2 separate regions of the Homo sapiens genome follow, and region 2 is linked to region 1. Evidence: promoter capture Hi-C in human tissues and cell types (Jung and others, 2019). All regions are on one chromosome and are shown on one strand. Each heading gives the region's core, a stretch centred on a gene start or on the middle of the fragment in contact. The rest is flanking DNA. Distances are from core to core; before and after follow the strand shown. Region 1 holds the start of MPV17 (mitochondrial inner membrane protein MPV17). Region 2 holds the start of KRTCAP3 (keratinocyte associated protein 3).

What was found. The method cuts DNA at HindIII sites, captures the fragments that hold promoters and counts their contacts. A contact is called where the count stands out against the background at its distance.
Region 2: a contact is called between the fragment with the promoter of KRTCAP3 here and the fragment with the promoter of MPV17 in region 1, in 1 of the 25 tissues and cell types used here (small bowel).

The regions. Positions count from the first base shown.
Region 1 is chr2:27,320,552-27,324,380 of GRCh38, forward strand. MPV17 (mitochondrial inner membrane protein MPV17) reads right to left here and starts at 2,546. Exons shown (of 8, transcript NM_002437.5): 1 at 2,501-2,546; 2 at 1,897-1,971. The coding sequence starts at 1,966. RefSeq lists enhancers at 1,941-1,990, 2,001-2,090, 2,101-2,150, 2,201-2,260, 2,383-3,355 and 3 more. The HindIII fragment of the contact is 20,851 bases long and covers 2,241-3,829 here.
Region 2 is chr2:27,440,356-27,444,388 of GRCh38, forward strand. It overlaps KRTCAP3 (keratinocyte associated protein 3), which reads left to right and starts at 2,026. Exons shown (of 7, transcript NM_173853.4): 1 at 2,026-2,085; 2 at 2,224-2,408; 3 at 2,487-2,546; 4 at 2,719-2,925; 5 at 3,043-3,177; 6 at 3,594-3,706; 7 at 3,831-3,942. The coding sequence starts at 2,058. The coding sequence ends at 3,701. It overlaps NRBP1 (nuclear receptor binding protein 1), which reads left to right. Exons shown (of 18, transcript NM_013392.4): 12 at 48-153; 13 at 297-347; 14 at 450-585; 15 at 772-825; 16 at 912-975; 17 at 1,212-1,267; 18 at 1,353-1,904. The coding sequence ends at 1,457. It overlaps IFT172 (intraflagellar transport 172), which reads right to left. Exons shown (of 48, transcript NM_015662.3): 48 at 4,022-4,033. RefSeq lists an enhancer at 2,161-2,703. The HindIII fragment of the contact is 11,668 bases long and covers 1-4,033 here.

The DNA of each region.
Region 1 (3,829 bases), core at 1,296-3,795:
TCTCGATCTCCTGACCTCGTGATCTGCCCACCTCGGCGTCCCAAAGTGCTGGGATTACAGGTGTGAGCCACCGCGCCCAGTCCCTAAACTCAAGTTTTAAAAGAGGAAACTAAGGCTCAAAGAAGCTTACTGACTTGTCCTGATTAATGCACCTACTAGGTGCTATGGTTTTAAGATTCAAATCCTGGTCTTCTAAGTCTGAAATCTCTGTACTGTTTTCCAGTGTGATGAGCTATCCCATGGGACCTTAGGAACTACTGTGCTGGGGTCCAAAAATGGCTCAGTGAACTAAAGCCACTTCCACCTTTTATTTGTAGTTTGATCCAAATACAGTGAACAGCAGGAAAGGAAAAGTCTGGATGGTCTGAAAAAGTCTGGGAAAAGTGCTGGGAGGCTACATTTTGCTTCAGGGCTGAGCTGGGACGTCAGCATAGCCTCAGGAAGACTGAGGCTGTGGAGCTGAAGGGCTCCAGCACCAAGAGCCCAGAACTCCAGCCACATGTCGGCACCTAGGCCTCCTTGGAGCTCTAGCTCCTGCCCTTGTCAGCTGCAGATGCCTCAGGTAGGGAAATATAAGGACTCTTTCCCTCCCTATTCTTGATGACCACAAGGGGGAATCTTCCATCTGGCAGTTATGGGCCCTGAGGGAATCTGAGCCTGGGCAAAGGGCCCAGCGTGTCAGTTCCCATCATAGCCACACTGTCCAGCATGAGTCACCACACACGTAGCCAGGTGAGTCATACAGGCTGACGGACGCTGAGGACAGGACAAGAGGTGGTTGGGCACCGGAGACTGGAGAGGGGCCCAGGGAAGGGCCAAAGAATCCATCTCCTGGCCATTCATGCAGTTAAGTTTCTGTGCCGATGCAGGGCTGTTCTGGTCACAGGATCCCTGTTCCACTCTGGCCTTCAGTAGCCCCCAATCCCTTCCAATAGTCCTCTTCTCAGAAGGCCAGTCATCACTAGAATCCTGTTCCCCTTCTCTAAACATGGGCAAGACCTCATCTTAATGTGATCACTCTTTGCACCCCAATGTTCTAAGGCCTTCTGACATTCCCCCTCTAAGACTTACTTATCTTCATGCCATCCTCTTACATTAGCTAACTTGCAAAATGAAGATGGTAACAAATGCAGGTAGGTCACTGCATTACCTCTGTGAGGTTAGTACTCAATCACTGCATTTGGAGTGACTGGTATCTGATCACTCCAAATGGATCAGGATGGAGTGATCAGATACCAATATACTAACCTTGGAGATACATATTTAGGCAGTAAATGATAACAAAAGCAAATGAACGATATAAACAAAACTCAGGAAATTTTGGGTGAATTACGGAGAGGCACTCAAGAGGTCTCAAAGCTGATTACTGACACAGGAGTGTTCAGTTTTAATGCCATTTAAACTGTACATACACATCTTAATCATTCTTTTGTATGTTTCACAATAAAAAATACCAAGAAAAACTGGGGTAAGAGTCTTGATTCAGCACTTATTAGGTGTGATCTAATGTGGACTCAAGTAACCCTCCTAGCTCACACACCTTTGTGGGGGCCCTATGCCATAACGTATATGAAAGTGCTTTGCATACGGTAAAATGTTTTCCAAGTTGAGGCCTCCTGGGGCAATGCCTTTATCCTTCAGGGCTGACTGTTCAGCTTTTTGAGGACTTTGAAATCCTAAAACCCTACTGCACAGCTTGGCCAACTACGCATACCCCTTAAAAACAGCCTTGGGGACCACCCTCCAAAACAGACTGGGGACAGTGTAGGATGAAAGACAGCCAACCCTTCAAGAGAGCCGAATAGAAACAGGAAGTGAGGGTGGTGCAGTGGGGCAAGCCTCTGGCTTCCAAATCAGTCTGCCCTGGTCCCACTCAAGTCCTAGAGGGACACTCACCAGCTGTCAGGACCTGTACTTTCCACGGGTGAGCGGCCAGGGCCCGCTGGTATGCCCGCCAGAGTGCCATGCTTCCTGTCAAGCCAAGAGGAGAGGGGGTCACCCCCACCGTCCCTCTCCACGACTAAGAAGCCGCCTGACATTCCCTTGTGCCCACTCCCTTCCCCTTCCCACTTCCAATGTGACTTAAAGGGGCAGAGGCCACATGAAGGATGCTTCCCAGACAGCTTCCTGTCGCAGGAGTCGCCTTAGACAATTGGGGAAGAGAGAAAGGCTGTGGGAAGCTATGGACTCCTGGTAGCAGCCACCAGCCACCCCAACCTCATTCCTGAAGCCAGACCACCTGGAAGCCTCCGTTCCCGACGGAGACACTCATGAGGACAGCTTTGCTCTGGCTTCTACCCAGAGCTTGGGTGCCTCAAAAGATAGCTTGGTCCGTCTCCAGATTCAGACTTGGTTGGAACCAGTTTGTAACCTTCCTGAGTCCAGCTCCAAACCGAAAATAGGGCCCGTCACTGCCCGGATATAGGATGACCACACACCTTGTGGGCACTCATGGCTTGCGACGCTTTAAGCCAGAGACCGCAGATCACCCGCCACTCACCTGAGCGCCGAGCCTCCCTCCCACGTGACAGGCTGGCCTAGGAACTTCCGCCACAAGTCCCGCCCCTTCCTCCCAGCGTCCTTCGGATTACGCAGCCAGGACAGGAATGGGGGTGGACCGAGCCATGAATACCCGTGGAGAGCGGCCTAACTCGGCCACCCACTCTGTGAGAGACCCCTTTTCCAGCTGGACTGTGCCGGACCCTGGTGTGGGGCCCGCCAGCCATATTTCTCACCTAAGTTCGACCCTCTGCCTCCTCCTGCCCCTTCTCTCCGCGCGAGACCCGGGCCTCTCTCAATCCGGTAGTCTCATTGTTCAGCCCACCCTCCCCGCATAACTGGCCATAACTACGATCCTTGTCTCAGCAATCGTAGTTAGGGAACTATAAGTTATAGTTAAGTGCGTGTTTTGTCTCTAGGTTCTTCACTGGCCTCAACTGTGAGCTCATGAGTGGGTAAAACTGGGGTCGTTCATATTTGTCGTCCTCATAGCAACTATTTCAGTGCTTTGCCGCAAACAGCCACTTAAGAAATACTGCGTATGTATGATTCTTCCACAGAAAGCATTGGAATTAGAACCTCAGAAGACATTAGGTATTGGCTCCCAAACTAACGGGCTGTGCAGCCTTGGTCATGACTAGACTTGATGTTAAGGCTCTGCATCTGTAAAATGAGGGAGGTTACACTATTGACTTTCCAAACTCGGCTCCTCAGTTCTAGGGATTTTTCAGATGTTTGTGTGTGGGGATGAGAGGGGCAGCATTACTACAGCTGCTTCTCCAACTTTTTTTTCCAAGTATATACTTCTCAAAAGACCCATTTTTAACGGGGCCCACAACTGCATGTTTGAAAACCAGTAAGCTAGGTGATTTCTTAATCCCCTTCCAGCTCTAACATTCTAAGAGTCTGTGAATATAGAGCAATATCCTTTCTAGAGCGTTGGAAATGTCTACAATATCCCTGGCAATGGACTTGTCAGGCTGGCAGGCTTTACTTATCTCCAGGGAGCCCACACGTCAGGAGGCACACTCTTTCAGGCTCTCCACCTGCCCAGCTCCACCCCCAATTTACTCAATTCCTTTATGATTAAGGCAGGGAGACTCCTGCCACAAATCCTGGAGAAACAGAGTAAGGAAGCAAGAGAAGTCAATGTCACAAACATTTAACTAAAATGCTATTTGCAAAACAGCATGCTAGAGGAGTGAACTGACAAAAGTAAATGTAATAGGAGACCAAATGTGGTAGGCTGTAAAGTTATATTCTGAAGTTAGACTGAGTTCAAATCCCCAGCACCACCACTTACTAGTTATATGACCTTGACCTTTTACAG
Region 2 (4,033 bases), core at 776-3,275, 120 kb after region 1:
TAATCTGACTATCCCTTCATAATATCCCACTCCATCATGCCCTCCAGACATGATCCCAGAGAACGCTCTAGAGGAGATCACCAAAAACATGGATACTAGTGCCGTACTGGCTGAAATCCCTGCAGGACCAGGAAGAGAACCAGTTCAGACTTTGTGAGTAACTGAGAGGGTCTGAAAGGGGCAGATTGGTCACGACCACTCTTGAGGCTCTGTAAACTGTCCATTCTCTGGGAATGCTTGAATTTGCTATTTTGCTTGTTTCTTTCCTTCCATCTCCTTTCTCTTTTCTCGTCCAGGTACTCTCAGTCACCAGCTCTGGAATTAGATAAATTCCTTGAAGATGTCAGGTGAGAGCAGAGTGAGAAGCAGGCTTTCTTGAGGAAGCAGGCGGGGTTGGGTATCCTAAGGCGTTCACAGAGCCCATGTGACCTGTCTTCATCTCCCTCCAGGAATGGGATCTATCCTCTGACAGCCTTTGGGCTGCCTCGGCCCCAGCAGCCACAGCAGGAGGAGGTGACATCACCTGTCGTGCCCCCCTCTGTCAAGACTCCGACACCTGAACCAGCTGAGGTGGAGACTCGCAAGGTGGGGGCTGTGTGGGTGTGGATTGTCTCCATGGTTGTGGTGGAAGGGAGAGAGGACATCTCAAATAAGGCTCTATCCTTTAGAGAAAATGCTCCCTAGCAGCCATGCCCTATGGGCTCGAAAGACGTCTAGGTATTGGGTTTTTTATGGACAGGTCTCTAGAGTGACCCTCTCTTCCCTCCCTAGGTGGTGCTGATGCAGTGCAACATTGAGTCGGTGGAGGAGGGAGTCAAACACCACGTAAGGCTCAGGGCTAGGGTTGCGCAGGGCTAGTAGCCAGAGGGTAGGGAAGAAAAGTCTCATTTTCTGACTGTCCTATTCTCCAGCTGACACTTCTGCTGAAGTTGGAGGACAAACTGAACCGGCACCTGAGCTGTGACCTGATGCCAAGTGAGTCTCTCCTTTCCCTCAGAGGATGGAGAGTCTATGAGCCTTATCTTTTAGGGACATATTCAGGGGTGGGGGAGGTGACAAGGCAGTAACACATTGACTCACATAGAATGACTATCTTAGACCCTAAAGCAGTGGGTGGATCTGACTGACAGTTTAGCCCTAGTGGGGCTGTCTGAAGGGCCCCAGGTCCCTCAGTCCCGTACTGTACTCACCCCCTCCTGTTTCTTTGTCAGATGAGAATATCCCCGAGTTGGCGGCTGAGCTGGTGCAGCTGGGCTTCATTAGTGAGGTGAGGTTTCTGCCTTCATCTGCCCTGGCTGCCCCCATGCCTTCTCTTCTCTCAGCCCCCATCTTACTGAGCTCTTCTCCCCCAGGCTGACCAGAGCCGGTTGACTTCTCTGCTAGAAGAGACCTTGAACAAGTTCAATTTTGCCAGGAACAGTACCCTCAACTCAGCCGCTGTCACCGTCTCCTCTTAGAGCTCACTCGGGCCAGGCCCTGATCTGCGCTGTGGCTGTCCCTGGACGTGCTGCAGCCCTCCTGTCCCTTCCCCCCAGTCAGTATTACCCTGTGAAGCCCCTTCCCTCCTTTATTATTCAGGAGGGCTGGGGGGGCTCCCTGGTTCTGAGCATCATCCTTTCCCCTCCCCTCTCTTCCTCCCCTCTGCACTTTGTTTACTTGTTTTGCACAGACGTGGGCCTGGGCCTTCTCAGCAGCCGCCTTCTAGTTGGGGGCTAGTCGCTGATCTGCCGGCTCCCGCCCAGCCTGTGTGGAAAGGAGGCCCACGGGCACTAGGGGAGCCGAATTCTACAATCCCGCTGGGGCGGCCGGGGCGGGAGAGAAAGGTGGTGCTGCAGTGGTGGCCCTGGGGGGCCATTCGATTCGCCTCAGTTGCTGCTGTAATAAAAGTCTACTTTTTGCTAAAAGCGTCGTGTGTTCGCGCCTTTCCCGCCAGGGGGAGCGGGCCCGGGGCGGAGGCGGGGCCCAGGTGGGAGGGGGACCCGGGACGGAGGCGGGGCCCAGGTTGGGGCGGGGCCGGGCCCAGGTACAGCGGCCCTGCGGCTGGCGCGGCGGACGGGATGAGGCGCTGCAGTCTCTGCGCTTTCGGTAACTTCCGGGCCCTGGCGTCTCGTCTCCTTACCCTGGGGCTACCCTTGCCCCGTCCTACTGCCCGCGGTTAACCCGCCGCGAGCCGCCTCTCCCCTCCCCGCCCGACTCAACCCTGCCCTCCCCCGTGCTTTGCAGACGCCGCCCGGGGGCCCAGGCGGCTGATGCGTGTGGGCCTCGCGCTGATCTTGGTGGGCCACGTGAACCTGCTGCTGGGGGCCGTGCTGCATGGCACCGTCCTGCGGCACGTGGCCAATCCCCGCGGCGCTGTCACGCCGGAGTACACCGTAGCCAATGTCATCTCTGTCGGCTCGGGGCTGCTGGTGAGCGCGGCAGGCGACCCGGGCGGGGGCCGGGCTCCCGGAGAGCCCAGCAGGCCAAAGGCTTTGTGTCTTCCACAGAGCGTTTCCGTGGGACTTGTGGCCCTCCTGGCGTCCAGGAACCTTCTTCGCCCTCCACTGGTGAGAGGGACTTCCCTGGAGCTTTTAACGAGTAGGCTTGAGTCAGGGAAATGGGGGCTGACTGAGCTTGGTCTTTCAATAGATTGGAGGAGCCTCAGAGAAACTGGGTGTCTAGTCACTGGGAGAGTTAGCCAGGCCCAGGCTGCTCACCCTGATCTCCTGTCCCTGCCAGCACTGGGTCCTGCTGGCACTAGCTCTGGTGAACCTGCTCTTGTCCGTTGCCTGCTCCCTGGGCCTCCTTCTTGCTGTGTCACTCACTGTGGCCAACGGTGGCCGCCGCCTTATTGCTGACTGCCACCCAGGACTGCTGGATCCTCTGGTACCACTGGATGAGGGGCCGGGACATACTGACTGCCCCTTTGACCCCACAAGAATCTATGTGAGCACATTCTCTTCCTTCTTGTGGTCTACAAAGCCTTGGTCCTGCCCTTTTAATTTCCCCTATTTGCTGCACTTGCCCTACTCCCTCCTACTCCCCATCCTTCTTGCTTTTCAGGATACAGCCTTGGCTCTCTGGATCCCTTCTTTGCTCATGTCTGCAGGGGAGGCTGCTCTATCTGGTTACTGCTGTGTGGCTGCACTCACTCTACGTGGAGTTGGGCCCTGCAGGAAGGACGGACTTCAGGGGCAGGTAAGGAAGGCAAACAGGAAGGGTTCATTCCACAGAGACTGGCTGTGTTGAAAAGATGCTGACCGGCCGGGTGCGGAGGCTCACACCTGTAATCCCAGCACTTTGGGAGGCTGAGGCAGGCGGATCACTTGAGGTCAGGAGTTTGAGACCAGCTTGGACAACATGGTGAAACCTCGTCTCTACTAAAAATACAAAAAATTAGGTGGGGTGGTGGGCGCCTGTAATCCCAGCTACTTGGAAGGCTGAGGCAGGAGAATCGCTTGAACCCGGAAGGCGGAGGTTGCAGTGAACCGAGATCACGCCACTGCACTCCAGCCTGGGCAACAGAGTGAGGCTCCGTCACAAAAAACAAAACAAAAAAAAGATGCTGACCTATCATTCAGGGCGAGGGTGTCTAACTCTATCTTCTTCTGCAGCTAGAGGAAATGACAGAGCTTGAATCTCCTAAATGTAAAAGGCAGGAAAATGAGCAGCTACTGGATCAAAATCAAGAAATCCGGGCATCACAGAGAAGTTGGGTTTAGGACAGGTAATGGGCCTTGAAGGTGGTGGCCCGGGTAAGAGCGGGGACAAGGAAGTGCTCTTAGAACTGGGTCTAGGTCTTGCCATGCTGCTTTCCCCTCTGACCTGGGTTGGTTCTCCCCTCTGTCCAGCAGGTGCTGTTCCGAGACTCAGTCCTAAAGGGTTTTTTTTCCCACTAAGCAAGGGGCCCTGACCTCGGGATGAGATAACAAATTGTAATAAAGTAACTTCTCTTTTCTTCTACTTGATTATGATTCCTTTTGGGGAAAAGGCACTGTGTGGTGTTGGGAATGACTTTGATCAAAGAATACAGTGGTCTCAATTATTTATAAAA